Linked DNA regions of Homo sapiens: region 2 is linked to region 1. Evidence: promoter capture Hi-C in human tissues and cell types (Jung and others, 2019). All regions are on one chromosome and are shown on one strand. Each heading gives the region's core, a stretch centred on a gene start or on the middle of the fragment in contact. The rest is flanking DNA. Distances are from core to core; before and after follow the strand shown.

Evidence for each region. Contacts are between HindIII fragments. The study calls those that stand out against the background at their distance.
Region 2: a contact is called between the fragment with the promoter of PITPNM2 here and the fragment with the promoter of ZCCHC8 in region 1, in 1 of the 25 tissues and cell types used here (IMR-90 fibroblasts).

The regions. Positions count from the first base shown.
Region 1 is chr12:122,498,952-122,502,816 of GRCh38, reverse strand. ZCCHC8 (zinc finger CCHC-type containing 8) reads left to right here and starts at 1,885. Exons shown (of 14, transcript NM_017612.5): 1 at 1,885-2,175. The coding sequence starts at 1,977. RefSeq lists enhancers at 840-1,531, 1,467-1,646, 1,697-1,756, 1,957-2,036, 1,532-2,225 and 1 more and a silencer at 2,177-2,326. The HindIII fragment of the contact is 12,081 bases long and covers 1-3,865 here.
Region 2 is chr12:123,149,490-123,153,696 of GRCh38, reverse strand. PITPNM2 (phosphatidylinositol transfer protein membrane associated 2) reads left to right here and starts at 2,607. Exons shown (of 26, transcript NM_020845.3): 1 at 2,607-2,944. It also overlaps a transcript of MPHOSPH9 not described here. RefSeq lists silencers at 2,224-2,423, 2,444-2,703, 2,724-2,863, 2,964-3,053. The HindIII fragment of the contact is 7,714 bases long and covers 1-4,207 here.

The DNA of each region.
Region 1 (3,865 bases), core at 636-3,135:
AGCCACCACGCCAGGCCTCATGCAGATTTTTCAGTGAAAGTAAACCTGGGAGGCGGAGGTTGCAGTGAGCCGAGATCATGCCACTGCACTCCAGCCTGGGTGACACAGTGAGACTCTGTCTCAAAAAATAAAATTTCAAAAAAAAAAAATTTAAATGGCCAGGCACAGTGGGTCATTCCTGTAATCCCAGTATTTAGGGAGGCAGAGGCAGGAGGATAGCTTTAGCTCAGAAGTTCAAGACCTACCTGGGCAATATAGGGAGATCCTGTTGTCCACAAAAAGAAAAAAAAAATGTTAAAATGTGTAAGTGACTTCCCAATGTTGTAAACGGAAAGAGGCTTCCTTAAGGGCCTTTGAGCACTGACCTAGCAGTGTTCCAACCTCATCTTGCTCCACTCTGCCTTTTCACTCAACATGGTGGTCCTTACACCTAAGACACTCTTCCATCCTCCCACCCCCAACTTTGCCGATCCTTAAAGTCTCACTTCCTCACTTTACTGACTCCCACAGACTAGGGTGTTTGTTAAATATTCATAACTTCCTGTGTTTTTCACCTTTTTTTTTTTTTTTTTTTTTTTGAGACAGAGTCTTGCTCTGTCGCCCAAGCTGGAGTGCAGTGGCACGATTTCGGCTCACTGCAACCTCTGCCTCCCGGGTTCAAGCGATTCTCCTTCCTCAACCTCCTGAGTAGCTGGGATTACAGGCGTGTGCCACTACGCCTGGCTAATTTTTGTATTTTTAGTAGAGACAGGGTTTCTCCATGTTGGTCATGCTCGTCTTGAATTTCTGACCTCGTGATCCACCTGCCTCGGCCTCCCAAAGTGCTGGGGTTGCAGATGTGAGCCACCGCCCCCGGCCCACATTTCTTTGTGTGATCAATATCCATCAACAACCATCTCGACCCAAGAACAGGAACATTTATAATTATGGGGTTTTTGTTGCTTTTTGTGGACTACAGCCTTCGTGAGAGGAGGAATTACTCTATTGTGGTTACTCTTGTAACCATACTCAGGTCCTAGACAAGTGCCTGGCCCATCGAAGGTGTAAGTAAATAATGTGATTGAATGACAGAAAGCCTCAACAGACAAATAGTTGAGTCTAGCTAATCTTACATTAAAAACGAAGCAAGCTCAATAAACTAATCTACAACAGTCATCTCTGTAGCAAAGCTGGAGTTTCTTATTCTCTTTTATGTTTATTTTTATTCAGTTCCCTTTCAGGCTATGGAGTTCCTTATTCTCTGGTGTGGCACGCACACCAGAATCTGTGAGAAGCTATGCGTCGTGCTCTGATTTTTCACCCTTAGTTGCCTAACAGGAACATCCCATACTGGTTTTTGTTTTTCTTTTTCTTTTTGAGACAGGGTCTTGCTTTGTCTCCCAGGCTGGTGTGCAGTGGCGCCATCTGGGCTCAATGCAGCCTCGACCTCTTGGGCTCAAACCCTCCCGCCTCAGCTTGCCGAGTACTTGGGACTACAATCGCCCAGCTAATTTTTATATTTTTTTGTAGTGTCTGGGTCTCGCTCTGTTGCCCAGGGTGGTCTCCAACTCCTGGGCTCACGTGATCCTCCCACCTCTGCCTCCCGAGTAGTTGGTATTACAGGTGTGAGCCACCCCGCCCTGCCCCCAGATTGCTTTAGCGCATTCTGACCTACTCCAGCTTTCTTCACATTTCAAAAAGCACCAATCCCAGGATGCAATGCAGACAATGAGTACCAGTCGCTTAGAAACCACACGTCCCAGCATGCCGTCCTCCGGGCAATCGCAAGCCCGATAGGCCCCGCTGCATTCCGGGAGTTGTAGTCTCTAGCGACTGGCCCCGCCCCGTGTGCAGCTTTCGCGGCCTGCGTCTGGAGAAAACCCTAGCGGGTGGCTCCGTGCGGCCAGAGCTCTAGAGAGTGGTGCCGCCTTCCAACCTTCTTCCCCAAGCCCTGGTGGCCGGCTCCGCCTCTTCTCGAATCTTTTCCACAGCCCAAAATGGCCGCAGAGGTGTATTTTGGCGATCTAGAGCTCTTCGAGCCGTTCGACCACCCAGAGGAGTCGATTCCGAAGCCCGTTCACACTCGCTTCAAGGACGACGACGGCGACGAGGAGGACGAAAATGGGGTCGGCGACGCGGAGCTACGGGAGCGGCTTCGGCAGTGCGAGGAGACCATCGAGCAGCTCCGCGCCGAGAATATCCTTTCCTCTCGCTGGGCCCTGTCACCCGGGTGTGGGGCCGGGGCAGCGCCAGGCGTGGGGCCGGGGCAGCGCCGGGCGAGGGCGAGGGCGCGGGCGGAAGTTCCAGGAGGGCCAGAATTCCAAGTGCTTTCTGTCACCCGCCGGCGGACCGAGAGTCTAGGGTTCGGGGCGCGCAGGCTGCCTCGGCGCAGACCTCTTCCCCTCAGGGAGGCCGTCTCCTGACCAGACCCACTCCTGCCTCCCACCCGGGTGCCGTGTTTAGGGTTATTTTAGGCTGCTCACCTGACAGATTGTACACAAGCCCTTAATTGCCCCCCTCTGTTTGAGGTCGTGGTGAGGTTTCATATTTCGCAGCCACGCTCAAATTGTGCCGTCATGTTACAGTTGTAGGTGATGAAATACCGGCTGCTTAGACGCGGGATCGGTTTTTATACCGGGGCAAACGCTAGTGGTCCCAGAATGCAGAGTTGGGGGCCTCAAGGAATCCGGGTGTGCTGAGATAATTGGTTAATTGCTTGATTAAAATTGGGGATTAATTTTAGAGTTCTTCCACTCGGAGCTCGCTTCTGTGCTGAAGATGCTTTGCAACGCCTTGAGGAAAACGCGCCAAAGAAGTTTCTGTTAGACTTGAGTTACAAGATTGCAGATTTTTCTTGATTTGCTAGTATGTTTTTTTTTACGTTCGTAGAGTTTTATAGGTAGATAGATAACTTTGGTTCGGGTAGTTTTCCTTTTAAAATTTGTAGAGAACTGAAAGTGGCTGATATGTTAGCTTTTTTAGGGGGACGGGGTCGGGGAATGGAGTCTCAGTCTGTTGCCCAGGCTGGAGTGCAGTGGCGCGATCTCGGCTCACTGCAACCTCCGCCTCCCGGGTTCAAGCGATTCTCCTGCCTCAGCCTCCCGAATAGCTGGGATTACAGGCGCCCGCCACGGCGCCCAGTCAGTATATCAGTTTTTAAGGTTTGTGAAGCGCGATTTATTTTTTCAGAATGTCGTCTTCCTCCACATTGTGAGGAAAATTTTCAGAATACAAAAAGTTGAGGCCGGGCGCTGTGGCTCAAGCCTGTAATCCCAGCACTTTGGGAGGCCGAGGCGGGTGGATCATGAGGTCAGGAGGATCATGAGGATCAGGTGGATCATGAGGATCAGGAGGTCAGCCTGGCCAACATGGTGAAACCCCGTCTCTACTAAAAATACAAAATTAGCCGGGCGTGGTGGCGCGTGCTTGTAATCCCAGCTACTCAGGAGGCTGAGGCAGGAGAATCCCTTGAACCTGGGAGGCGGAGGTTGCAGTGAGCCAAGATCACACCATTGCACTCCAGCCTGGGCGACAGGGTGAGACTGTGTCTCAAAAAAAAAAAAAAAAAGTTGAAAGGATTCTACAGTGGACATCCATAGATTTATTCCAAATTCTAAAGTTGTTAACAGCTCGTTATACTGCATTCTCTTTATCACATAGTGGTTGTTGAAAGGTTTGACAGGAACACTGATGCTTCAATAATGGTTTTGGTTCAGTTTGTTAGTCTGTTGAACTTCAGGATCGTGTCTTAGAATATATGTTCGAAAGGATAAAAACCGTACTTTAATTTTGGGTTTCAAAAGCCTACCCCTGCAACAAAATAGAAGCTCAATAAGTGTGTCATCCTCAAAATATCCGTGGGTCTTTTGTCTTTATAATATTCTGA
Region 2 (4,207 bases), core at 1,358-3,857, 650 kb before region 1:
GTCTCCTGGGTTCAAGCTATTCTCCTGCCTCAGCCTCCCGTGTAGGTGGGATTACAGGTGCATACCACGCCTGGTTAATTTTTGTATTTTCGGTAGAGACGGGGTTCTCACCATGTTGGCCATCCTGGTCTTGAACTTCTGACCCCAAATGATCTGCCTGCCTTGGCCTCCCATAGTGTTGGGATTACAGGCGTGAGCCACTGCGCCCAGCCTTGAGGTAGCATACTTTCTGAAATAAAAAAGTAGATTATGTCCGAAGCAGTTGACCTAAAAACTGCCTTGGACTGACATTTGTTAGGTGGTCTAAGATGTTCTCTTCACGCTTTGCAAAAAAATGAGCTTTTTTGGAGTTTAAATTAAGCATCCCTCTGGTGTGTTTGGTTTTTTAGCCACCAAAAATTTAACAAATTTGATAACCTGTCACGTGTAAGTTCAGAAAGCACTTTGGTCTTAATTGGTGACTTGGGGGTTATTTGGTATAAATATAGGTTGTTTTTCTAAAAATTATTGCCAGTATCCTCCAAATAATTGCCCCTTCAAATGTTTCATCTAAAGGTGACAGCTTGTGGGCAGAACCATGCACAGGAAGTGCCTGCCAGTGGGTGTTAGGAGATGTAGGTGGAGTCTGTGATAGCCAACCAAAAGCTATCCCCTTCTCGCCCAGAAAAGCCACGTGCTTTGCTGGACGCTACTTGAAATCTGAACTCTGCACCTACATATGTAGTAAAATTAGACACTTTTGTCACTTTAATTTTTAGATTATCTCAAGTTTTCACTAGATTTCAATGTGCCACTTGTGCTATGAGTCTTTAAGAAGCTTTAAAAAATAAATGCACACCTGTAGCCTTTTACCATTCAGACAGGTAGATTATATTTACCTGTCATGAGGGACCATGTATGGTTGACAGTTGCAGGTTTGATTAAATCCACTATATTGCACAAATTTTGCTGGAAATAATTTCCTGCCCTGCCAAGAGCTCTATGGTAGTTTGATAATAAACTACTACCCCAGTATTCTTAGGAACTGTGTTACTAAGTCTTTTCTGCCTGATTTGTACTTTATTTCCATAGACCCCTCAGATATGTGAGGAATCAAGCCATAAATGTGCATTTGCTGGACATTATGTACCATGTCATCTCTATGACTACAGATTTCAAGGATAATTTTTACATCTAACAATTTCACTGTAACAGTGACCGATAATGTGAGAAATGTGCTTTTTACAGTGCTGCTGGTGGGTAGACAAGTGCTTGCTGCAGTTGTTTCTGAATCTAGCCAGATGCTGGAGTCGTGAAGCTGTAAGCTCCGCGGGAGCAGGGACCATCTCTCTTTCTTGCACTACAGGCACTCAATAAATACTTGTGGCTGTGAACTGGCGTGTGGCCTTTGTGTGTTTATTTCTGCTAGCTGGCTGCAGGAGCGGGTTGTTGGTGATTTTAAGTCCCAGGCATAGAGAAGTCCTTGAGTTATGGGTTAAGGGGCGTCCATCCAGGAGCACAGTTCCCGTTGGGACTCTGTGGGCTCCGCAGATCTTTCTGGATGGATCCTAGGGCACCTCTTGGTGGAGGGAAGGAGCTGAAGCGTTCTAGGTGATGGTGGTACGCCTTGGTCCTCCTCTGCGTGGTCATGGTCAGGGGCACCTGGAGGCGAGTCGGGAACGATGGCCTTCCTGGCCCGTTCAGTTGGGTTCTGCCGTGACCCCAGGAGGTGAGCAGCTGTCAGGGGCTCGGCCTCCCCGGCTTCATCTGGAGTCATCTAGGCCGCCTTAATTTTAGCTTGTCCTCTCTCCTCCAGGGGAGCACCGCCGTCTCCTCAGCCTTATAAGGTGACAAGTAGGGATGGGTCACACATCACTAAGTTTTAGGTGTGCTCTCTTTAGTTCCATGACTTCAGATTTTGCCAAACAAGTCCACCCTGGCTCAACCTAACAAACACCTCATGTTTTTAAGGAATGTCACCAGGCGCTCCCCCACCGGGGGCTCTTCCCATTGGAGAGCCCTGTCGTGCCAGATCATCCGGATTAAACTGTTCGTGATCCTCTTCCAGCTACTCCCTGAGGTGGGGACCGGGACGGCTGCGCTCCCGGCTCTGCCGTTCCCTGGGCCGCGGCCCGGGCGTCCTGAGGGGAGAGCGCGGACCCACCGTGTGGCGAGCACCGCGCCCGGGGCTGGGCTTCGGTGAGCTGCCCGCTGCGCTCTGCCCTCCCTGGTTTACCATTTCGCTCCTAAGAAACTTCATTTTTTAAAATGAGGCTGTTTTAAGAGTCACAGTGGCCGCAAGTCGGCCGGTTCCCGCCCCCGAGTGCGCTCGGCTGCTGCGGACGGTGGGCGAGGAGCCCGGGGCGGGGATCCGCGCCGCCGCCCCCGAGTCCAGTCCCGGGCCCTGAGGACACGGGCGAGCCGGGGAGGAGCGGGGTCGCCGCGGCAGGTCTGAGGAACCAGGCGGGCTGCCCGAGTCGGAGAGGTTTCTTCCGGCGGAGGCGGCGGGGCCGGGCCGAGACTCCGCAGGGACGCGCCCCCGCCGCCGCCGCCGCCGCTCCCCCGCGCGGCCTGAGGAGGCGCCGCCGCCACTGAGGGAATGCGAGCCCGGCCCGGCGCGCGCGGGCAGCAGCGGCCGCTGGGGTGCGCGGGGCACCGCGGCGCCGCGGCGTAGAGCTGTCCAGCCGGCCCCGGCCGCCCGCCCGGCGCTTCCTTCTCAGCTCGCGGCCGCCTCAGCGAGAGCCGCCCGCCAGCACGTGCGCCGCCGCCGCCCGCCTGCGACGCTCGGGAGCAATGCCCGCCGGGGCTCTGCCGCTCGCCCGGGGCCAGCAGGCGGCGGGGGCGCGCGGGGCGCAGCCGGCCGGGCCGGGGCCGCGGGGCGGGCGCTCCCCGTGAGGCGGCGTGAGGTGGCGGCGGCCCAGCCGGGGCCCCGAAGAGGACAGAGCCCGCGGCCGCGCCGAGCGGGGTGAGTGCGTCCGGGCGGCCGCTCCGCAGGCCCGCGGTGAGTCCCGCAGTGCCGGGCGCTGGCCGGGGACCTGGGGATCTGGGCGGCGGCTCCCAGAGAGGCCCCGGCCCGCCCGCCCGCCGAGCCTCCAGCCCGCCGGGGGCTGGAGGAGGGAGCGGAGACCCGGGCAGGGAGGAGGGTGTGGCGTACGGGAGCCCCGCTCGGGAGACCGCCCGAGCCTGGCCTCAGTGAGTCGCCGGCCCTGGATCCGTGCCCGAAACGCTGATTTCCGAATTTCCGTCGGTCGCGACCGCGTGGGGGACCCCCGCCAGGGACAAGTGTCATAGCGGTCGGGGGGCAGGCGTGGGCAGTGCCGGTGCCAGGGCGAGGAAGGGGCTATCGGGAGGAAGCGGAGGTGAGCCCCCGGCCCGCCTTCTCTGCTTCCCGCCTCCAGCTGAACGTCCCCAGGCCCGGGCCGTGGCCTCTGCTTGTCGGGGGCCCAGGGTTGGGGTGTGGCCCGTCTCCATCCTCAGTGCCCCCTTCGTGTGGTAATGGGGTGCCGGCTCTGTCTTCTTCCCACCCCGAATCCTTTCTTATCCGTGGCAGGGCTGATCGGGGGGCCTTGGGGAGAGGGAAAGTTCAGTGTCCCCCGCCCCAGTGTGCACTGCCTCCCCGCAAGAAATCCCAAACGGCCACTCCAGGTGAACATAGTGCGCGCGGTGCAAATGTCATTTCAAGGCAAGTCCTCCAGGCTTGTCCCCTTTCCACCGACTTGCTCCTGCAGAGACATCCTGCACTCCTCTCCCTCCCACTGAAGTGTGGGCTGGGTGCCTCTCCAAACACCCCGGCCTACCTGCCTCCCCCACCCAGAGTCGGGATTCTTCAAAGGAGACCTCACTGGAACATCTGTCTTTGTCCACAACCAGCTCTCTCCCCGGCCTCCACCTGGGAGTGACCAGAGCTGCTAGGATAGACCCCCCACTTCTGGAGGGAAGGCAGTAAGTGCTCCCCTTCATCTGAATCTCCCCTAACATCCATCCCCCAGACTCCTCTCTGCTCTGAACTCCCACTGCCTGCTATCTGTATCTCCTGTGTAACTCTTATCACCGTCTGCCTTATTTTATAGTTACTTTTCCATCTGCCTTATCTCCCCTGCTGGACGGTGAGCTCCCGGGCTGGAGTTGATTCATCTCTGGTCTCCTGCCCTGGTCAGTACCCTGCGTGGAGTCAGTGTCTCCGTGGAGCAGAAGGCCCCTCCAACGCTTGCCTCTGGGACCATAGCTT